Linked DNA regions of Homo sapiens: regions 1, 2, 3 and 4 are each linked to region 5. Evidence: promoter capture Hi-C in 16 types of primary human blood cells and fetal thymus (Javierre and others, 2016). All regions are on one chromosome and are shown on one strand. Each heading gives the region's core, a stretch centred on a gene start or on the middle of the fragment in contact. The rest is flanking DNA. Distances are from core to core; before and after follow the strand shown.

The links. Contacts are between HindIII fragments. The CHiCAGO score rates a contact against its expected background, and 5 or more counts as called.
Region 1: a contact is called between a fragment that was not itself captured here and the fragment with the promoter of ETS1 in region 5, in 8 of 17 cell types (activated CD4 T cells, non-activated CD4 T cells, naive CD8 T cells and 5 more). The highest score is 15.7, in activated CD4 T cells.
Region 2: a contact is called between a fragment that was not itself captured here and the fragment with the promoter of ETS1 in region 5, in 7 of 17 cell types (naive CD8 T cells, naive CD4 T cells, total CD8 T cells and 4 more). The highest score is 14.9, in naive CD8 T cells.
Region 3: a fragment that was not itself captured here is called in contact with the fragment with the promoter of ETS1 in region 5 in 3 of 17 cell types (total CD8 T cells, naive CD8 T cells and naive CD4 T cells); the score reaches 7.5 in total CD8 T cells.
Region 4: a contact is called between a fragment that was not itself captured here and the fragment with the promoter of ETS1 in region 5, in 6 of 17 cell types (activated CD4 T cells, non-activated CD4 T cells, total CD4 T cells and 3 more). The highest score is 12.9, in activated CD4 T cells.

What each region holds. Positions count from the first base shown.
Region 1 is chr11:128,044,403-128,049,033 of GRCh38, forward strand. No RefSeq gene overlaps it. Among named protein-coding and RNA genes, the nearest start is that of LINC02725, 49 kb to the right of the region's middle. The HindIII fragment of the contact is 4,575 bases long and covers 519-4,631 here.
Region 2 is chr11:128,020,898-128,025,851 of GRCh38, forward strand. No RefSeq gene overlaps it. Among named protein-coding and RNA genes, the nearest start is that of LINC02725, 72 kb to the right of the region's middle. The HindIII fragment of the contact is 357 bases long and covers 2,999-3,355 here.
Region 3 is chr11:128,003,434-128,008,252 of GRCh38, forward strand. No RefSeq gene overlaps it. Among named protein-coding and RNA genes, the nearest start is that of LINC02725, 90 kb to the right of the region's middle. The HindIII fragment of the contact is 528 bases long and covers 1,285-1,812 here.
Region 4 is chr11:128,063,306-128,068,042 of GRCh38, forward strand. No RefSeq gene overlaps it. Among named protein-coding and RNA genes, the nearest start is that of LINC02725, 30 kb to the right of the region's middle. The HindIII fragment of the contact is 5,563 bases long and covers 1-4,737 here.
Region 5 is chr11:128,584,774-128,589,657 of GRCh38, forward strand. ETS1 (ETS proto-oncogene 1, transcription factor) reads right to left here and starts at 2,785. Exons shown (of 10, transcript NM_001143820.2): 1 at 2,715-2,785. It overlaps LOC105369565 (a long non-coding RNA gene), which reads left to right. Exons shown (of 5, transcript XR_948163.3): 4 at 1,567-2,187; 5 at 4,248-4,884. RefSeq lists a silencer at 2,738-2,944. The HindIII fragment of the contact is 9,036 bases long and covers 1-4,133 here.

The DNA of each region.
Region 1 (4,631 bases), core at 1,556-4,055, 540 kb before region 5:
ACACAAATACAAACCCACTAAGTTATGGTATGTCAATTTTTGGAAAAATAACATGTATTATGATACTATTCAATTTGCAGTCTGTAAGTTGTAATTTTATTGTGAATAGTAAAAAAAAAAAATAGTTCACCAATAGTCTTTCTCTCTGAGGAGATGCTTTCCAACTTTAAGCTCCACAGTCACACAAAGTTAGAGGGAGATTATAAGTGACGCATATTGCAGCTGAAGATGGTTAGAACTCTTAGAAACAGAAGTGGTGGAGAGGAATATTCTCCTGGGGGAAAATATTCCTTTCTTGAGAAAATAATAAATAAATATGGTGTAAACAGATAAACTTAAATAGAGAAACAAAATTAAACTTTCTATTTTGTTCAATGATAGGTTTTCTCACTCTTTAAAAGGTGAAAGTGGACTACAAACCTGCAGAGGAGATTCACTATGCCCTTCTTTATCCCAATTTGACCACATATCTCCCTGACTTTTGATTTTACATTAATAGGCTCTGGAAGATTTAAACAAGCTTGGGAAAGTCTGCATTTATATTTCATTCCCAACCAGTTAGTTATCAGATCTAGCTATATGGATCTGCACTTACATTTTGGAGATTCCACATAGAAAGGAGAAAATCCATGTAGACATGGAGAATGGACACATTAATTAATTGAAAAGGGGAACATGAGGAAGGGCAATGATACAAATTTCATTAGTTCAGGTTCACTAAGAAGCAGATTCCAAATTGAGATTAGATGTGTGAGACATTTATTGACGGAGGGATCAGGAGAAGGTAGGGAGAGCCTTCAGAGGCTAACACCTATGAAAAGTCCTACCTCCCACAGGACTGAGCCTGCCCTAGTACCCAATGCAGTCAGTCATTGGTTGAGAGTAGCAGGAAGAAACACAGTAGGAGGTCCATATGGGGTGGTGAGTAAATTAGGCTCTCCACAGCAGGAAATCTGAACTTCACAACCTCTTTGCCAACCACACAAGCCAAAATCTAGTCAAACAATTTTAAGACACAAATTTACAAATTTGTTAATTGAGTAATGACCCATCGTTTGCCATTATCCAAGCATAATAATTTATTGTTTTAAAGTGAATTTCCCTCTGTTTATTATGATAATTCGTGCTAGGAATGTGCTACACACCACAGATGTGAAGTTGAGTTTTGGAAATATCCTGATTTGGAGATGGAAAATGTGGGCCGTTTGTTCCACATGGTTGTGTAACTTACTTAACCTCTTCTTCTCAGCTTCCCTGTCTGCAAATTGCTGCAGCTATTTTATTAGAGCATTTTTCTAAAGGCTAAAATAGTCTATGTAAAAATTATTGGGAAGTACTATGAAAATTACTGTTAGCAGGGACTGAGACTGAGGCAATGTTTTCATGTAATGTAAGTTCTTAGGAAAGCAGAGACTCTTATTTCATTTAATCCATGGTTATCTTTTAGAACAGAAATAAATTAGAGCCTGGCTAATAAAATTTCTATTAGAAATTTCATTTTCCAAACATTAAATAGCTTTTTAGCCTAAATTTTTTATCATAAACTCAAAAGCTAGTTCATGTCTTTCCTGTGTATTTTTTGTCATGATAGAGCAGCTGCCTATTAAAAGTTATCATTATGCATTTTTCATTCCATATATCTCATTCTTACATTTTTGTATGTATATGCTTGTTATGATTTATTTTACTAAAGACAAATAATAATATTCTATAACATGTATTGATGACTTATTATGTAGCAGAAACTATGTTAACAGGGAATCTAACTACATTTGTTGTCTTCTATATCCTAAGACCATAATGACGATCTCTGAAACAGTACTAATTTTCCAATTACTCTTATCTTTAACTGGAAAAACACAATGAAAATTGCAGAACTCCTTTGGGGAGAGTTATGTTGTGCAATAAATAAAGTTATTGTAGTTTCATAAATCTTGGACACCACTAAGCCAGAGGGAAAAGTGTTGTATTTGGAAGTTCCTTTTATTAGTACTTGATGCTATATACACTGGGTGCCGTACAAGACAAAAATAACCAGTGATGCGATAATGAAACAGACAAAAGGTCAAATAATTGAAAATCCAGTATAAGCTAGACATGATGGCTAATACGTAGAGTTTCCTGCAGAAACACAAGGAATGGACAAATCTTTCCTTTTCTGATTTAATTTTTTCCTACTTTGCCTGATTACTTTAGTACATTAAATACTAGGATCTGACAGGCTTTGCTGGAAGAAAGGTCAATCTCCAGGATGATATTTAAGAGAATTTAAACAGATTTTTGCCTGTTCACTTAATAACTGGGTAACTTTACATAAATTGCTTAAGCTCTCTAAGCCCCGGTTTCCTTATTTAAAAAAATGAGACTAAGAATATGTAATAGGGTAATTATGAGTATTACACAAGGAAATATATTTAAAGTAGTTTCCATTGTGCTTAATCCAAGTAAACATACAATAATTATAGAGTTATTATTTTAAAAGATACTATTTATCGACTTCTCATTATAATGCTAGTTTTGTGAACTTTTCTTCCTTTTATTGAAGTTCCCAATATTCCTCATAAGTTATGCAATCCCTAAGTTGGTAGAGCTTTCCATCAGAACTTTGCTTTTAGAAATATAAATATCTAGTACTTAGTTAGTAAGGCATCTAGGGATAGTCCTGGTTAACTGTTGCCTTTGGCATTCTAATAATACACGTTTTTTACTCCATTTCTCCTAAAACCCAGTTTTACAGCTGGAAATACAGTATCAACGTCTCTGTTAATGCCACTTTGTAGTTGACTCACAAGTCAGAAAAACAAAAGCCAAGTTAACAATGACATTTTGTTTGTGAAAGAAGGTTACATAGATAAGCAAGAGTTACTCATACTGAACAAAAATGAATTGCTCAGTTTATTCCACTGTTCAAAATAATCGAATCACCAAAGTTAAGTGAAGAATGACTTGAGCAGCCGTTGTAAAATACAAACTCTTCTTCAGCTTCTGGGAACTTCAGAACCAGCTCCCATATCTAGTTCTCTATGGAATAGACAGGTGCTTTACCTCTACATGTACTCCCTGACCTCAACCATCTACTAATACCACAGAAAGAAATAGTACACTAATTAAAGAAACACAATTCTTAATAACATAAAGCAAAACAAACGAAAAAAACACAAACAAAATCAACTAATAAACATCAACGCTTTCTCAGCACAACACTGAACATTAGCTAAGAATGATAACACACCAAATTCAGTATAATGAAACTGAACTGGAGTCCATGTAGCTCTTCAACTGCATCTATGATAATATTTAACTTATGTAATATATTGCTACTATTATTAATAATAAAAATAATTCTGAAAGAAATATGGTAAAATGTTGAAATTTAATCAATTATGCTGATTATGTTATTTACTTTTCATTATACTTAAAATATTTCATGACTTTTTTAATGATGAAAAAGGTTAAGGTAAACGATGTGTCATGTGGCACCGTGGAAACTGGAAGACATGCATTAGAATTCTGGTTCTACCACTGAATGGATCATACTCTTGTCAACCCTTAGTTTCTACCTATAAAATCTCTACCTATAAAAAAAGAAAGCCATAAAATTGTTCTACTATTTTTTACCTGCCTCATAAGGTATTTTATAAGTATAAAACAAAGCTGATGTTAGAAAATACTTAGCACAGTGCCTAACACAGAAAATTCTACTAAATATTATTTTTGCCTGAAAAATCATTTTAATAATAGTTTTTATGATGCATAGAATAGATTCTACACAAAGCAAGAAGACTGGTGTTGCCAGTGGGTTTCTAACATGCCTTGTGAGAATGAGCTACTAGAGGAGTGTCCTTACAGCAACATTCGCTGACCAAGAAAAGTGGAGAAATAGACTAGACTGGATTTATGGTCAGAGTGGTGGAGTTAATGAATAATAGTACCTATTTTAGTCATGCTTCAGTAAAGGCTACATTAAATTTCCCAGACACAAAATTGACAGAAGTACTTGGAGGAAGAACAGATTCCTGTTAAAACAAGAACAAGGCCAGGTGCGGTGGCTCATGCCTGTAATCCCAGCATTTTGGGAGGCTGAGGTGGGCAGATCACCTGAGGTCGGGAGTTCGAGACCAGATTGACCAACATGGAGAAACCCCATCTCTACTAAAAATACAAAATTAGCCAGGCATGGTGGCGCATGCCTGTAATCCCAGCTACTTGGGAGGCTGAGGCAGGAGAATCACTTGAACCCGGGAGACGGAGGTTGCAATGAGCTGAGATCGCACCACTGCACACCAGTCTAGGCAACAAGAGCAAAACTGCTTCTAAATAAATAAATAAATAAATAAATAAAAGAACAAATTTAAACTATGCTAAGAAAAATGAAGACTGCCCATTCTCACTTCCAAAAATTTCAGAGAAAAATGAACACTTGAAAGAGAGAGGTGGGGGGCTTTCAAGGGAAAGTATAAAGCCACCATCTTTGGGGAAGTAAATAGATATTTCCAGCTGTGGAATCATTTAATGGAGTTCTTAAATAGGAAAAAAAAAAAAAAGCAGAAATTTGAGCAGAAATAGCAAAATCAAAGACCAAAAAGAAGAAATACGCAAAGGCAGGATCAAAGTGATGAGCAATGAAGAGT
Region 2 (4,954 bases), core at 1,927-4,426, 560 kb before region 5:
CCTGACACATTGTTCCTACCTGTAAATTGAAGATAATAATCCATGGCCCTTTGTTATCACAGTAAGTGGAAAATGAGATCCTGTAGGTGAAGGACGTTGAAGTCACAAAGAGAAAGGAGCTCTTCTATGAAACTTCCAGAGGGTAGTGGCAGCATCAACTGACATTTATGGGCGCTAACTCTGCACAGGGCACCATTGCTTATCCTGTACACTGCATTAACTAAAACTAAAAATTGTCCCTGTCTAGGGAAAGTTTGCCCTTCAAAAATCTTAGCTGCAGAGGTTACATAAATACATTCATAGAAGAAAAAACATAAGGAGGAGGGGAAAGATTTTTTTTAAAGCCCATATCTCTATGTTTAACTGACATGAGATTTTTATTTATTTTTACTACTTAAATTTTTTGAGCCTACACCGCAGGAATAAGCAGAGTCTATTAAAGAGTCTGATGCTGCAAATGATCTTACAGAAGATCACTAGAATTTATGATCAGCTCTGCCCTTGCAACCTGCCTTCCCTGCAGCAGCAGGCGAGGAAGGCAGAGAGGCTGAGAGGTCATTGGCTGACATCAGCAGGTACAAAGTATGCCATCCTTCCAGGTTTGGAGACGTGGAAGTAAACACGGATTGTGCCAGGAGCAAGCTTTGACCTGACTGTGGGGTTGCGGGTGGGGGCATGTGTGTCTGCTGGGCAGCAGGAGAAGAAGTTTCTCTCTGTACTGGGGCTGTGAAAGGCTGGGCTGCCCTCACACTGCAGGTGTCGGGGGCTCAGGAGCCTCTTCTTATCTTTTGTGTGACTGCAACTATTTTCCCAAGAAAATTAAAGTGACTTAGTCAGTTAACCTGAAATTCCCAGCAGCAGATTAGAAGTTTTGTCATCAGACTTTGGTGGCTGAGAGAGCAGAAAGTGCTGAGTGTGACAGAGGTGGGATTCCACTACCACCTAGTGGGCAGCAAGGGGCCACCTCTTTGCCCCTCATGGCTCCAAGGAACATCAAGGGAACTGGGAGGGAAACAGTCAAAAAGGAAGTTAATATAAGTTCTAGGTAGAATTAGACCATCTTGTAGTGCTTCCATCAGCCACCTGATGGGGTGCATTCTGAGCACCCCATCAGGTGTTGATAGTAGGTTGGAGAGCTGCTACCCTCCCTCAGAATTTGGTTCCTGGGCCCTGGAATGACAGGATGCACCCAGCCTGCTTCGGGGCAGTCGACTGGCCAAAGAGAGGCATTGGACCTGATTCGAGGAAACCTATTCTCATATTTGAAGCCAGGGGCTTATTCATCCACTGCAAAATCAGTTCACTGCTGTCAAAGACTATAGCTGAGTCATTTCTAGTTTCCTCCCTGCTGCCTGCCTTATGCACTGAGCATGTTGCTCTTGAAACACATTTTTTTGACAGTAGATGCAGTGCTCACAGTTTTATATGTGAAAGGAAGTGATGTTTATTATGATCACAATGAGACTAAAATGTGAGGATCACTGCCCACAAGCAGTTCATATTCTAGAGGAGCTGGGAGACACAAACAAGTAGTTGCAGAAAAATCTAACAGTGTGTAATGGTTAATTTTATGTGTCAGCTTGGCTAGGCTATGGTATCATTTTTGGTTAAACACCAGTCTAAATATTGCTGTAAATGTATTATTTAGATATTATTAACATTTAAATTAGTAGCTTTTGAGTGAGGCAGGTGATCCTTCATAATGTGAATGTGCCTTGTCCAACCAGTTGTAGGCCTTAAGAGAAAAGACCTCAAAAGGTCTTTTGAGTAGAAGGAATTGTGCCTCCAGACTGCATTTAGATTCAAGGTACAACATTAACTCTTTCCAGGGTCTCCAGCCTGCAGGCCTGTCCTTCAGAATTCAGCCTTGCCAGCCCCTACAATTGCATGAGAGAATTCCTTAAAATAAATCTCTCAATACATAGATGATTGATAGATAGATAGATGACAGATATAGACAGATGATAGATAGGTGATAGATGTAGAGAAAGATAAATGATAGTGATAGATAGATGATTGATAGGTGACAAATATAGACAGATGATAGATATTATAGGCATATGATTGATAAATAGATGACAGATATAGATGGATGATAGATAGATAGATGACAGATATAGACAGATGATAGATAGGGGATAGATATAGAGAAAGATAAATGATAGATAGTGATAGATAGAAGATTGATAGGTGACAAATATAGAGAGATGATAGATATTATAGGTAGATGATTGATAAATAGATGACAGATATAGAGGATGATAGATGATAGATCGATGATAGATAGATAGAGGATGTGTATATAGATCCATAGATCTCTACAGCTATGCACATTCCATTGGTTATGATTCTCTGGAGGACCCTGACTAATACAGATTCATAATGGAGAGCATTTCAAAGCATTCTAGCATCACAGAGAAGAGATTTATTCTGCCTGAGGGATCAGGATGAATTTACATCAGCGGTAGCACTTAGGATACTCTTTCAAGGACAGACAAATTGAAGTTCCACAGATGAGGAAGGAAAATAATTTTTTTCAGGCAAAGGGAATAAGCAGATATGATCTGATCAGAGACACTATGCAAACAGAGTGACCTTCAATAACTCTAGTCTATGGTGCCTGGGATGGCACATGCTGAATGAAAGCTGAGATAGAATGAGACAAAGTTACTGAGGACCTGTTGTAAAGGACCTTGATTGCTCAAGGTTTGTCCTTCCTCAGAGACACTAAGATCTCTGATGTCCTAGGCATGAATGCATAGTGTGAAATGAAGTCAAGAAGTGACAAGTTTGATTTCCTTAGAAGGCTGCTTGGGATAGACAGGTAAACATTAAAAGGCTGCTACAATTTTTATTTCAAATTCTAATAAGAATTATCTGTAGGTGTGAAGACTAGCAGTGGGTCACAGAGCACCCCAGAGACAAAGAAATAGAAACAGTCTTCTCTCTGCTATCCTCTGATATCTTCATAAGAGTGAGTACAGCAGGATGGTTGAGAAGCTTGGTTCTGCCATCAAACTGCACTAAGTCGGTATCTCTCCACTACTGGTTAAGTCACCTTGAACAAATTATTCTCTAAACCCCAGTTTCTTCACTTATAAACCAGATCTAATAATAGTACTTGCTTCATATGGCTGTTGAGAGGATTAAATGAGATCAGACATGGGGGTGCTTGGCCCAGCACTGAGCACCTTGTAAAAGCTCACTAAGCATTATTTTTTAATGCAAAAAGGATACTAGAGAAAGATGCTAGCACTGTTTAACATAAGCATGGACATTTTTTTAAAGATTAGTTTCTAATACCATCCTAACCCTTTTGTCAAGTGGGCTTGCTGGTATATTGATCAGAAACATAAGCTTCTGTTCTTCAAAGATGGCCCATTAGGGTTACAATTGTGTTCTTGTTTTATCAAAGGGAAGAAGGAAAGACACTACTAATGCTAATGGTGTCAACTAATAATTTTGGGTACAGAGAAGTCTAGAGAACACATTGCTTATGTACGTATCACTTTCTGGTGTTTACCTTACAATCAGATCCTTAGGGCTCCCAATGGGCCACTGTGAAACTAAAGGGCAGTCAGGATATCTCATTCTAATGTCATGTTTGAAAGGAAGATGCATGCCATACAATCTTCACCATCTTATACTGCCTGCCTTTTTCCTAAGAGCTCTAAATTTCTGCTGTGGGTCAAGGCTGGGAGGTGGTGTGATCAGATGGCTAAATGATTAAGAAGTAGCCTCATGAAGAGCCCGAGGCAGCCTGGCCCTCATTAATATATTCTGTTCAAGCCCCCTAGGGCAAGAATGACAACTGGAAATTATACTTGTCATCTTCCTAGAAGTTGGCATTAGTAAAGTATTTTCTCCTACAGGGTTAATGCTGGTTGAATATTCCTGGGGCATCTACAGATAGGCACTGTATGATCAGTGGAGATATTTTAAACCACCACAAATTTGCACAGGTGTAAATACGATGATTCAAATAAGTGGACACACATTTACACATACGTACACCCACACTTAAATACCACACCACATCCCCAAGTGTCGTATGACATCTAAGGCTTCCCTGTCTATCATCTGTAAGAGGAGTCCACAGATGAACCTATCTCAGGTGAGACTCTCCTGAGCTCAACACTTAGCTCTCTCTGAGTCCCTGGTCTCCCCATAAAGAAGAAGTTTTAAGAGGGTTGTGAAGCCATTTGACTGCCAGGAAACTCACAGCCAGATTTTGTGCTCAACTGCAGCAGCTATCCTAGGATTAGAATTTAGGTAAGATTATCACTCTCCTTTTCTATTTCTCTGCTCTTAGCTTTTTCCGGAGGAATGCATATTATACTCCTATACCTAATTTATAACCATAGAAGTTATCCTCAAAGGCCTTCATGGCCATAAATCTCATGAATCCTGTCCCATCCCAGAGTCATAGAGTGGATCCTATTTCTTCTAATGGCATCCCTAGTCCCTAAATACCTAACTAGGTGAAGGTTTAATTTTGAAACACACTGGTTCTCCAATGAAACAAATGCATGTAGGTCTGGGGGTTGTTTCTCTTACTTATAGATGGCTCAGACTATGACAAGGGCTTCATTCACCCAGTAGTTAAGGGAGGAAAGAACTGGAGACTAAAGACTGAAGGCAGACAGGATACTAGAGGGCTGGACCAGGGTCCTAGCCCATACATGATGCACACTGGGGTTCCCACCCAGCTCACTCTAGGACTCAATTTCCGCTTCTCTAGTAGGTCTAAATTATTTAAATCATCAATTTTCAAACATGTCTAAACTTGAAAAAATTTTAACAAAATATTGTAATGAAGCCAATAATAATAATAATAAAAGCAATAAATATTGCAAGTATTAATACAACAGATGGATACCTCAGTGTGACAGTTTCAGGAGTGAAGGGCGTTTCCCCATAGCTGCTAGCAGCTGACTGCCTCAGCTTTCAGACC
Region 3 (4,819 bases), core at 299-2,798, 580 kb before region 5:
TTCTAGGTATAGTATTCTATGCTGGCATTTTTTTCCTTTCAACACATTGAAGATTTCATGTTACTCTTATTGCTAGTATAGTTTCTGCTGAGAATCTCTCTGTATTTCCTTGTTCCTCTACAGGTAGGGAGTGTTTTCCAACCCCATCTTTCCACCCTTACTCCTGGTTTCCTTCAAGATGTTTTTCTGCCTTTGACTTTCTGCAGTTTCAAATGATATTCCTGGAGTTATGTGGTGGGTTTTTTGGCTATTTTTTTTTTCTTCTTGATGTTCTCTGAGCTTCCTAAACCTGTGGTTTATTGTTAGCAATTAAGCTTGGAAATTTTTCAGACATTGTTTAAGTTATTTCCCCTGCTTTATTGTTCTTTCTTTCTTGTCCTTCTGGTTTTCTAAATACCTGTATGTTAAAAATAAATACCTGTATGTTAGTTATATCTTTTGACATTTTCTCACAGTTGTTTAATACCATTTTTTTTCATTATGTTTTCCCTTTGCAAATCAGTTTGGGAAGTTGTATTGACCTATCTTCAAGGTCACTGATTTTCTTTCCTCAGCTTTGTCCAGTCTACTAATGAGCCCATCAAAGACATTGTTCTTTATGTTATAGTGTGTCTGACTTTTAACATTAATTTTTAAATTCTTTTTTGGCATATTCATGTCTCTGCTTACAAAACACATCTTTTCTTGCATATTGTCTACTTTTTCCATTATAGCTCTTAATATATTAATTATAGTTATCTTAAATATCCAATGTGATAATTCTGACTCTTTGTTGTATCTGAGTCTGGTTCTGATGCTTGCTTTATCTCTCAGACTTTGTTTCTTCTTGCCTTCAGACATGCTTTGTATTTGTTTTTCTTTTTTGTTGTTAAAAACTAGGCATGTCTGAGATACTGAGAATTACTGAGAATTGAGATAACTGGCCCCTGAGTGATGATTTATGGTAATAGGGCTAAACGTAAGGCTGTGCTTAATATTTGCTGTAGTTATATGTACCACAGGCTTCAAATTCTTCTAATGCTCTGGTTTTTGGTTTCCCCATGAACTCCTGCTGAGAGAGAGCCTGTATATGGCATTCACTGCAGGATTCAGCTTTTTAGGAACCTACACAAAGAAAGATGGTCTCGTGGTCAAAGTATATGAATTAGAAGCAACTTAACTGAACAAACCACTTGGTCCTGAAAATTTAAATCTTTGCTTTCTTTTCTCAATATCAAGCTATAGGAAGAAGCGGATTTAACTCTGATACTTTCACTTATATCCTCACTCCTAGGACCTTATAAAAGCTTATTCTGATAATGAGTGAAGAAAGGAGGATACAGAGATATACAAAGGCAGAATTATTTAAAAGTGTCCCTGGCAAAGAAAAATAGAAAGATAATTCACTGAAAGTTTGTAACTTTCTTTACAAAGGATGTCCCCAATTAATACCAATAATATAGCAGAAGGTATCAGGAGTTCATGACACATTGTATTAGAAATAAACAGTAAACTAGGAATCAGGCCCCTTCATTCATATGTTCATTCACTCAATAAATATTTACCCAGTGCTTTCTATCTGTCAGGCATTGTGCGAGGTGGTACTACTAACACATCCTGTGACATTGTGCCAATCATTTTATCTTCCTGACTTTCAGTTTTTATAAAAGCAAAACCAAGAGAATTATATCTGCCCACAGTGCTTATTGTGAAGTTCAAATGAGACAGTAACTGTGGATATACTTTGAAAAGTGCATAACAACATTGAGTTTTATTTATATAATGTTTACATATATTGTATTTATAAAAAGGCTGTTTGAACTAAATTTCAGAAGCTTCACAAGGATTGTAATTTTTCATTGGTTTTACTTATTTCACTTTTTTTCATAGTACCGCCTTCCAAGTTTTTTTACATTAGCTTTATAGGAAAATGCTCAGTTTTACTGGCTCTGTTTTGAGATTCATCCTCTCAGAACTCTTGCCTTGATTTTTACAAAAGTAGATTTCTTACTAGGGACTAACATTTTAGGAAGGCAAAATTTACTCCCAATTTGTGGTTCAAATGGAAAAGTTGAGCCCAAGAAAGTGACTGAGTCAGTCAAGGGCAGGGCTCAGAAGAAGTGACGATACACTTCACTCCCTGCAGCCACCAAAAGTCCAGACCCTTTAAGTCTACAATTAATAGCAGCAACATCAGGTCTTAGATCATACTTTTTCTACTTACCAGAGCTATCTGTAGAGGCTACTGAGCTGTGGCCATCATCTCCTCTCATGGCATCCTTTGGTTTACTGTGAAGGCATTATGCAGAAAGGGTGATTTATTTGTGTCTACTTTCCTCACATGGAAAAAACTCCAGCCAGAATTCCGAGCCTAATTTCCATCCATTATGCTTACTGGAGCAGTATGCTGTGCTGTTCAGAGCAGATAAAAACTGGAGACTCTGCATTTTAAACTCACCAAATGATTGAGAAATAAATTTAGTTCTAAGCACAGCCAATGAATAGCTGCAAGGTGTGTTGGTTTATCATAACAGATACGTCAACTTTATCCTCCAGAATCCCAGCATTATCACAATGAGTTTCCTCAGCAGAAGCTGAATGGAGTATTGCACAGAGAATTTAACTTTAAGAAAAAACATTGGTCCAATGTCTAGGAGCCTATTAACATATTCTGCTGTCTTTTCATTACAGTTTCCCTTATTGCAGTAGAACCCCAGAATAGTATGTTTCTAAATGTCATTAAAAAATTAACGAAGGGAGGCAAGATGGCTGATTGGAAGCAGCTGCAGTCCACGGCACTCACGAGGAGGAATGAAAAGGGGCAAATGATTTCAGCACTTTCAACTGAAATATCCAGATTCTTGCATTGGGACTGACTAGGCAAACAAATTGACCCACAGAGAACAAAGAAAGGCAGGGAGTGGGGGTGGGGCAACAGCCCATCCAGAAGCAATACGGAGCCAAAGGAACCTTCCCCCCACAGCCAAGGGAAGCGGTGAGTGATTGTGCGATCTCATCTGGGGAACCATGCTTCTCTCATGGATCTTTGCAACCTGCAAATCAGGAGATCTCCTTCCGAGCCCATGCCACCAGGGCTTTGGGTCCAATACACAAAGCTATATGGAGTTTCAGCAGAGCAGCTGCTCACTAACTCCAGTCCCAGGATCTGGCAAAGTGGAAAATTCATCTGTACATATTCCTAGGAAGAGGGCTGAATCCAGGGAGCCGAACAGCACCCCTCTGCAGGCCCCACTTCCATGGCACCTCACAACTTAATACCCACTGACTTGGAACCCCAGCCAGCCAATGGCAGCAGGCTGGAGTCCACCTGAGATGGGAGTGAGTTCCTTGGGGGAGGAGTGGACCCCATCTCTATGGTTCAATAGAAGCAGCCATTCCAGCTTGCCAGCTGTGGAGAATACAGGTGGTCTGGTTGAGGAGGGACCACAAACAATGCAGTACAGCTGCCTTGTCAGATCATAGTCAGACTGCTTCTTGAAGCAGGGCCTCAACCCATTTCTCCTCACTGGGTGGGACCTTGGTTCCACAGATAGAGCTCTGATCTCTCCTTGGGATGATGCTATTGTGGGAAGGGGTGGCTGTCATCTCTGTAGTTTTATAGATTTAGCAATTCCAGCCTGCCAGCTGTGGAAAATACAGGTGGTCTGAATGAGGAAGGATGCCCCCCAGCACAGCATTACTGCTCTACCAAGAAGCAACCAGACTGATTTTTTGGGCAGGTCTCTGATCTCATTCCTCCTGACTGGATGAGATCTCCCGGCAGTGGTCCCCAGCCACCTCTTACAGGTGTGCACAGGCCAGCAACACATCAGTGCCTCCCTGAGACAGAGCTTCTAGGGGAAGGAGGTGGCTGCAATATTTGCTGTTTACTGTCCTTCACTGGTGATACCTCCACGTATGGGAGAAACCAAGGCAACTGGGGTCTGTAGTGGACCCCCAGCAAACCACAGGAATCCTACAGTTGAGTGGCCTGACTGTTAAAAGAAAAACAAACAAGCAAAACAACAACATAAAAAAAAAATCCCACAGAAGCCCCATTCAAAGGTCAGCAACCTCAAATATCAAAGGTAGATAAGCCCACAAAGATGAGAAATAACCAATGCAAAAATGCTGAAAACTCAAAAACCAGGGTGCGTTTTCTCCTCCAAATTACCACAACACTTCTACAGCAAGTGCACAGAACTAGGCTGAGGCTGAAATGGCTAAATTGACAGAAGTAGGCTTCAGAAGGTGGGTAATAATAAATTTCACTGAGCTAAAGGAGCATGTTCTAACTCAATAAAAAATTTAAGAATCAAGGCAAAACCAAACAGGAGCTAATAACCAGAATAGCCAGTTTAGAGAGGAGCATAACTGGCCTAATAGAGTTGAAAAACACAACATGAGAACTTCACAATTCAATCACATGTATCAATATCGGAATAGACCAACAGAGGAAAGAATCTCAGAGCTTGAAGACTATCTTTCTGGAATAAGACAGGCAGTCAAGAACAAAAAAAATAGAATGAAAAGGAATGAACAAAACTTCCAAGATATGTGATGTATAGAGACTGAACCTATGATTGATTGGGGTACCTGAAACAGATAGGAAGCATGAAACCAAGCTGGAAAACATACTTCAGGATATCATCCAGGAGAACATCTCCAACATAGCAAGACAGGCCAATATTCAAATTCAGGAACTGCAGAGAACCCCAGTAAGATACTCTATGAGAAGATTAACCCCAAGACATATAATCTTCAGATTCTCCAAGGTGGACATGAAAGAAAAAATGTTAAATGCAGCCAGAGAGAAAGATAAAGTCACCTACAAAAGGAA
Region 4 (4,737 bases), core at 967-3,466, 520 kb before region 5:
CTAAGATACACAGATGGTTAGTAGTAGAGCCAGGAATAAAAAACCAGACAGACTGACTGGAGACCTAATGTTCCTACCTCTTCCACAATTCTACCTGTGGATGTAGAGATGATCCTGAAAAAGTAGTACATTAGCTATTAAACATCTTGTTATGAGTTGCTGTGCTCCACACTTGTAGATCCCTAAGATCTGGCATAACAGAGGGCTTAAAATGTAAAGATAAGGAAAGACTGAAATAGATAGACCACAACCTAGACTAATAAGAGAAGATCCAAGTAAACACAATTAGAAATGAAAAGGGGATATTACCACTAAGCCCACAGAAATACAAATAACTATCAGAGAATATTATGAATACCTATATGCACACAAACTAGAAAATTTAGAAGAAAAAGATATATTCCTGAACTTATACACCCTCCCCAAAATGAAGCAGGAAGAAATTGAATCCCTGAATAGACAAATAATGAGCTCTGAACAGATAGTAATGTTTATCAGTAATAAACATTCTACCAACCAAAAAAAGCCCAGGACCAGATAAATTCACAGCCAAATTCTATCAGAGGTACAAAGATGATCTGGTAGTTTCCTAATGAAACTATTTCAAAAAATTGAGAAGGAGGGACTCTCCCTAACTTATTCTATAAGGCCAGATACCAAAATCTGGCAGAGACACAACATAAAAAAGAAAATGTCAAGCCAATATCCTTGATGAACATCGATGCAAAAATCCTCTACAATATACTACCAAACTGAATCCAGCAGCACATGAAAAAACTACTCCACCATGATCGAGTTGGTTTTATCCCTGGAATCCAAGGTTGGTTCAACATAAGCAAATCAATAAATGTGATTTGTCACATTAACAGAACTAAAGACAAAAACTACATGATTATCTCAACAGATGCAGAAAAGGCTTTTGATAAAATTCAATATCCTTTCATGTTAAAAACTTTCAATAAACTGGGTATTGAAGGAACACACATCAAAATAATAAGAGCCGCCTATGACAAACCCATAGCCAACATCATTCTGAATGGGAAAAAACTTGAAGTATTCCCCTCGAAAACCAGAACAAGATAAGGCTGCTCACTCTCACCACTCGTATTCAACATAGTATTGGAAGTCCTGGCCAGAGCAATTAGGCAAAAGGAAGAAATAAAGGGCATCCAAATAGGAAGAGAGAAAGTCAAACTAACCCTGTTTGAAGATGACATGATTCTATATCTACAAAACCCCATAGTGTTGATCCAAAAACTCCTTAAGCTGATAAACAACTTAATAAGCAAAGTCTCAGGATACAAAAATCAATGTACAAAAATCAGTAGCATTTCTATACACCAACAATGTCCAAGCTGAAAGCCAAATCAAGAACACAATCACATAAACTATAGCCACAAAGAGAATAAAATATCTAGGAATATAACTAAACAAGGAGGTGAAAGATCTCTACAATGGGAACTAAGAAAGTCCTAAAATAAATGACATAAACAAATGGGAAAATATTTTATGCTGATGGATAGGAAGACTCAATATATTTAAAATGGCCATACTGCCCAAAGCAATTTATAAATTTAATACTATCCTTATCAAACTACCAGTGGCATTCTTCACTGAATTAGAAAAACAATATTTTAAAATTCATATGGAACCAAAAAAGAGCCTACATAGCCAAGGCACTTCTAAGCAAAAAGAACAAATCTGGAGGCATCACATTATCTGATTTCAAACTATTCTACATGGCTACAGTAACCAAAACAGCAAGGTACTGGTACGAAAACAGACATATAGACCAATGGAACAGAATAGAGAGCCCAGAAATAAGGCTGCACATCTACAACCATCCAATCTTCAGCAAAGATGACAAAAGCAAGCAATGGGGAAAGGCTTCCTATTTAATAAATGGTGCTGGGATAACTGGCTAGCCATATTCAGAAGACTGAAATTTGACCCCTTCTTTACACCATATACAAACATAAACAAGATGAATTAAAGACTTAAATATAAAACTCAAAGCTATAAAAACCTTGGAAGACAACCTAGACAATACCATTCTAGACATAGAAACTGGCAAAGATTTCACGATACAGGTGCCAAAAGCAATTACAACAAAAGCAAAATTGGCAGAGGGGCTCTAATTAAACGAAAGAGCTTCCACACAGCAAAAGAAGAGTAAACAGACAACCTACAGAATGGAAGAAACATTTTTCAAACTATGCATCCAACAAAGATCTAACATTCAGCATCTATAACGAACTTAAACAAATTTACAAGGAAACAACCCCATTAAAAAGTTGGCAAAAGACATGAACAGAAAGTTTTCAAAAGAAGATATACATGTGGCCAAGCAACATATGAAAAAGAGCTCAACATCACTGATCATTAGAGAAATGCAAACCAAAACCAAAATGAAATAATATCTCACACCAGTCAGAATGGCTGTTATTAAAAAGTCAAAAAGTAACAGATGCTAGGGAGGTTGTAGAAAAAAAAAATGCTTATACACTGTTAGTGGGGGTGTAAATTAGTTCAACCATTGAGGAAAGCAGTGTGGTGATTCCTCAAAGAGCTAAAAAGCAGATCTACCATTCAACCCAGCAATCACATAACTGGGTATATGCCCAAAGGAATATAAATTATTCTACCATAAAGACACATGCATGCATATGTTCATTGCAACACTGTTCACAATAGCAAAGACATGGAATTAACCTAAATGCCTATCAATGGTAGATTGGATAAAGAAAATGTGCCATATATACACCATGGAACACTATGCAGTCATAAAAAATAACAAAATTGTGCCCTCTGCAGGAACATGGATGGAGCTAGAGGCCATTACCCTTAGCAAACTAATGCAGGAACAGAAAACCAAATACCATATGTACTCCCTTGTAAGTGAGAACTAAATGATAAGAACTCATGGACACATACAGGGGAAAAACAGACACCGGAACCTACCTGAGAGTGGAGGGTGGGAGGAGGGGGAAGATCAAGAAAAATAACTAATTGGTACTAGTCTTAATACCCGGGTGATGAAAAAATATATACATTAAACCTCCATGATATGGGTTTACCTATACAACAAACCTGCATATGTACCCTTAAACTTAAAATAAAAGGTTTTAAAAAAGACTGTTAGAATTGATTGTAAAATTTCTCAGTTATGTTTTGTAAAAAAGACAGAAAGAGGAAGAAGAATTTTTATATCAGTGGTTACACTTATCCCACAAAATTTTAGTTAACAGTTAAATAACCTAATCAACTGGCTTCAAACTGACATACACAGCTGTTCATCAGATGCCTGTGGAGCTTCAAATGAAAACAAACAAAACGGAATAACCTCAAAAGCAAGATCTTGCTTACACTGTGGATGGAGATGTGAAATGATACAGAGAATTTGGGAAACAATTTGGCAGTTTCTTACACAGTTAAACACACACTTATCATATAACCCAGCCATTGCACTCCTGTATCATGCAAGAGAAATTAAATCGTATGTCTACACGTATTCTTATTCATGAATGTTCCAGAAACTTTATTTATAATAGCCAAAGCCTGGAAATAACCCCAGTGTCAAACTGGTGAATGCATAAACAATTTGCAATATATGCATACAGTGAAATGCTATTGAGAAACATAAAGAAATAAAATCCTGATACATGCAACATGGATAAATATTTTTTAAAATCCTAAATTAAAGAAAGCAGACACAATGTACTGTATGTTGTATGATTTTATTTTTATGAAATTTGTAGCAAACACAAAACTAGAAGGGTGGGAGCATACAAGTATTTGAGTCAGGAGTAAGGACATTAATTAACTGCAAGTGAACACAGGTAACTCTTTTGAGGTGATGCAAATATTATAAAATCAGGTTATGGGATGTATTAGCCCATTTTCATGCTGCTGATAAAGACATACCTGAGACTGTGCAACTTACAAAAGAAAGAGGTTTAATTGGACTTACAGTTCCATGTGGCTGGGGAAGCTCACGATCATGGCAGAAGGTGAAATGCTCGTCTCACATGGCAGCAGACAACAGAAGAGAGCTTGTGCAGGAAAACTCCCCCTTATATAACCATCAGATCTCATGAGACTTATTCACTATCATGAGAACAGCCCAGGAAAGACCTGACCCCATGATTCAATTACCTCCCACCAGGTACCTCCCACAACACGTGGGAATTCAAGATGAGATTTGAGTGGGGACACGGCCAAACCATATCATTCTGCCCCTGGCCCCTCCCAAATCTCATGTCCTCACATTTCAAAACCAATCGTGACTTCCCAACAGTCCCCAAAAATCTTAACTCATTTCAGCATGAACTCAAAAGTCCACAATCTAAAGTCTCTTCCAAGACAAGGCAAGTCCCTTCTGCCTATGAGCCTGCAAAATCAAAAGCAAGTTAGTTACTTCCTAGATACAATGGAAGTACAGGCATTGGGTAAATACACCCACGCCAAATGGGAGAAATTGGCCAAAACAAAGGGGTTACAGGCCCTATGCAAGTCTGAAACCCAGCAGGGCAGTCAAATCTTAAAGCTCCAAAATTATCTCCTTCAACTCCATGTCTCACATCCAGGTCACACTGATATAAGAGGTAGGCTCCCAGGGCCTTGGGCAGCTCTGCCCCTGTGGCTTTGCAGGATATAACCCCCCTCCTTGCTGCTTTCACAAGCTGGTGCTGCATGTCTGTGGCTTTCCAGGCATATGGTGCAAGCTGTCACTGGATC
Region 5 (4,884 bases), core at 1,535-4,034:
CACTAAATTGCTGCATACCACATTAATTTTGCTCAAATGCTAAATACTTTATCATTTCCATAATGAAGAAAGAAAGGGAGGAAAGGGAAGGAGGAGGGAAGAGGGAGAGAGAGAAGAAGAAGAAAGGAGGGGAGAGAAAAGAAAGAAAGAGGAAGAAAAAAGAGAAAAGAAAGAAAGAAAGAAAGAAAGAAAGAAAGAAAGAAAGAAAGAAAGAAAGGAAGGAAGGAAGGAAAGAAAGGAAAGAAAGAAGAAAGAAAGAAAAGAAAGAAAGAAAGAAAGAAAGAAAGAAAGAAAGAAAGAAAGAGAAAGAAAGAAAGGAAAGAAAGAAAGGAAGGAAGGAAGGAAAGAAAGAAGAAAGAAAGAAAAGAAAGAAAGAAAGAAAGAAAGAAAGAAAGAGAAAGAAAGAAAGAAAGAAGGAAGGAAAGAAAGAAAGAAAGAAAGAAAGAAAGAAAGAAAGAAAGAAAGAAAGAAAAAGAAAGGAGGGAGGGAGGAAAGAAAGAAGGAAAAGAAAAGAAAGATAGAAAGGGAGGGAAGGGAGGGAAGAAGGAAGGAAGGAAGCAAGGAAGGAAGGAAGCAAGGAAGGAAGGAAGGGTCCCAGCTCGTGGGACGTAATCATTCCCTTCTGCTGTTTGATGTGAACAGTTGGGAATTTTGAACTGGTAATTAGAAAATGATAGTCACTATGGAAAACAGATCTATTCACCAATAATTAAAATCACAAGGTACATCAGAACCTCAGTTATCAGTAAGAAATTCACCAGTGCAATCAAAGAGAGAAATCTGTTGATTATTTGTTTGCAGTGTTTTGCCTTCTGCCTCACCCTCCCCTAGGTGAGAGGACCTGCACCCACACACCCAGTTTGTTGAAGTATTACTTCAGACAGTCCTTGACCTCACTGGCACTCTGATTTTTCATAGCCCTATGCTGTTTACTTCTATTCTCTCATATTTGTAAACCAGGCGGGGCGCAAATGATTGCTCACCTTTTAGAGATGAAGGGAAGAAGGCACAGACACGTTCAATCCCTGTTCTCTGTTACAAAGCTAATCACTGACATAATCCAAGTGCACAGCCACTTTCCCTTCTCCGACCCAGCGCTGGTTCAAGTTCTGACCCCACTTGCCTTTGAACTCCATTATCGTCCGGGACCGGCCACTGGCCCAAGTCGGTGCTCTGGCCACAGACTGCCAGATGCCAAAGGATCCCACCCCTCTACCAGCTTCCCCCAGGCTCTGCCTCAGGACATCCTTTCACAGCCAGCAACTAGCACCTCCGTGTAAGGAGCCTGCCGGGCAAAGATGCCCCCTCCATAATTAGGCTCTCGGCTTGGCTTCCCACATCCTCAGCAGCGGAACCAGGACGGAAGAGGCTGCATGGATGCCTGAACTGTTTGTTATTTCACTATTGAGTTGGCAAGGATGGAAGTAGTTGATTTACAATTAGAAGCAGCATGCTTCTTCAAATATTAATATTAATAACTGCACTACTGAACACATGAAAAGACCTTTTCATCTTCAAAGCACTTTGCAGACATTAACCCATTAGCTCTCCCTTCCCTCCATTCAGGAACAACAGGTGAGCAAGACTCTCAACAGCAGCAGTGGCCACCCTGCAGCCCTTGTGCACAGCCCACGGCCCCTGAAGAAAAAGCGTTTTCTCTTTGGATAAAAATAGGCCACCAAACCCAAAACCACAACTGATGAAAGAGTTATAGTATCAGTAATTTTACAAATCAAATGGAGCTGATGGAGTTATCATTTTAGAATTGGTATTTCCTGCTGTTTAACAAATACTTTTTTCTCAGTTGCATGGCAGTGGTCTAAAGTAAGAAGGAAAATGGACTTGAGATTAAAAACAAAAACTTACCCAAAAGGTGATAAAGAAATCCTGCAATAGAATGCATTGATTTCAGTGACCCAGCACCCTTTTAAGTTTGCCTGAAGAAAATACTACTTTAAAAGTTGGTAACAGAGACCTTTAACGGTGGGTGAGGAGTCACATACAAAGTGTCACGGCCAGATAAAATCACCGGATGCAGAGGAATTGCCATCGACATCTCCTGCCACTGAGTCCAGCTCTACCGTGGGGACAAGAAATACCTCCCTAACTCTGAGACAACCGCGGCCCACACCCACACCATGTCTCAACAACAGACTTAGGAACTTGTAGATCTTTGGACAACTGCAGGTCAGTCCCAAGACAGAGAAAAACACCAAACAGGCTAGTTTGGCTAGCAAGATTCAAACCTGTAGCAATTTCCTCTCTATTAAAAGCAATTCATTAAACTACTAGCAGGAGAAAAAAGTAAAACAATAGATTTACTAGGAGTGAAAGAGAATAAAAAGAAATTTATATATTTAACTACAGCTTTATTTCTTTGGAAGTGCTCCAATTTGCAAAAAAAAAAAAAAAAAATCAGGGTTTCTGACAAGTAATCTACGGGTATCTAAAACGTGCATGGTTTTACTTTTGTGAAGCAGGGAACATTTTTAAAAACATAGTCTTGCTTTCAGACTATTCTGACGAGGTTAGGAAGTATTTTTGAAAATTGTTAAACAATTAAATGGGAATATAGAAAGACGTGAAAAGAGAAAGAGAAAACTCACTTGTATCCTGAATCTCCCTACCGACTTACTCTTTAATTCCACAGAAATTTTTTTAAAGCAGGAAAAGGAAAATGGACTGAAAAGTTTTAGGCAGAAACTGACACACACCTCACTTACTACTTTGCCGGAGAGCAGATCCTGAGTGAGCTTCCCTCAAAGTCTGTGGTCTCTTTCCAACTACCTGCGGGAATCCTCTGCTCCGTAGCTTAAGAGGATGCAAAGACCATAATGTTTCTAATAGAGCTGCCTCCTTAAATTGGGGGGTGTGGTCAAGCCAGGGAAAGCTGGAAAAAAGGCAGTCTTCCTCTTGCCCCTGGCACCAGGACAGCAGCCACTGGCACAGGCACAGCAGTCTAGGTGGAAAGCACTGTTGATTGACAGTGGTGGCACCAAATCACACATTATTTCGTATTCTTCAAATTGTGCTTCAGCTGAATATAACTCAGCCTTGGAGAGTAACAGGGAGGGAGATGAGCAAAAGGGAACTAGTTCAGTGGGATAACACTGTATCTCACCTCATCATTTGCTGATGCATTTACTCTCTGCTGAATATGTAAATATTCATGCTTCATGTTCCTTGACTTTCTCAATGGAGCCCCCATTAACCTAGGCAAGGTCTCAGGTGAGGGAAAGGGATTGCTTTAGAAACACAGGACGTCCACCACCCAGTCACCTGCTCAGGCTTCCCGTTTCTCTCTAATAACTTGATATGAAATGTGATATTTTCTAAAGAAAAGAAAATAATTTTGTGGAAGAGAGCTGACTGGATATGGACTTGGGATTTCTGAAAAGTAAAGCTAAAAATCCCCTTTTCATATAAGTCTGGTTTTAGGCAATCTCTAAAATAAGGATACTTTTAGCAGCCCTGACTCATGGTCCGTGGTGCAGGAATAAAAGGGCAGAAGTGTTCATACATTTCTCATTTAGGGAAAATGTAAACAATATGAAAATCTTACATCTGTCCTAAGTGAAAATACACAGCATCTTTTATTCACATATTCAGGACTATGGTAAGAATGTTACAGCATAATCTCATTTCTATGAATGGAGTTATTACAATTTTTTTTGAGAAGTCAGTATTTGGCTGCTTAATCTAAGACTTTTATCCTAAAAGATTCCATCTTCTTTGAGTAGGAGGTGGGAGTTAAGATTTGTCATAGTTGGCTTCTTTCTCTTTTTAATAAAGATACAAACTTAGAAAATCCTTGAAAATCTAATAACTGTCATTTGGAGCCATATCATCATCAGCCTTCATTGTATAAAGCTGGCAATGCAGTTAAGATGACATTGTAAGTAAAGCAAGATTTTACTGCTCATCTTCTGCCTTTGCACATTAACTTGGAAGTAAGGAAGAGGTAATGCTATTGGTTCACTTTAGTTTAATAAATTGCCTGTGCCAGGCACTGTTCTAGGCACTAGAAAGATAGCAAGTTTGCATTGTAGTGAGGAGACAGACACATAAATCAACGATCTCCCCCCAAAAATGTAATACATGCTACAAAAGAAGTCTATGAAGAGAGCTAGGGAAGCTTCAGCCTGCCCCTGTAACCCAGTCAATTTCAGCACACTGCCCCATTTAAAGAGCCCACGGTCAATTATACCAATCATAACTAATTACAACTGTATTCACTATGTTTGCAGGATAATTGAAAAAAACAAAGTTGAGAAGACTTGGATTCTTGCTCTATAAGGGTGTACAGTGTGGCTGTCAAGGGGTTCTGAAGTCTGGAGTTGTCTATGCTGAGTTTATATAGAAAGCAACTCTTCAGGACCTTAGCTCCCTCCTCTGACACGGCCTTTTACGGTGTGGAAGAACATAAACTAGAAATCTTAATAGTGCAAAATAAGCCACCACTGTCATAAATTGCCTAGAGAATGCCCAGGAAAACAGTAAGTTTTGTTTTAAACAGTATTTTCAAAAATATAACATTAGATGGGTATCCACATATAAGAGCATGACATTGGACTCCTACCTTACACCATACTCAAAAATTAACAAAAATCTATCAAAGATCTGAACATAAGAATGAAAATTATAAAATTCTTAGAAAAAATCAAAGAAGAAAACTTCATGACATTGGATTTAGCAATGATTTCCTGGGATATGACAGCTTATCCCAGGAAAAAAAACTTGGGCAACAAAAGAAAAAATAGATAAGTTGGACTTTATCAAAGTTTTAAAATGTTGTACATCAAGGGGCACTATTAAGACAGTGAAAGGGAAGTCCACAGAATGAGAAAAAAAATTGCAAATCACATATCTAATAAGGACTTAATA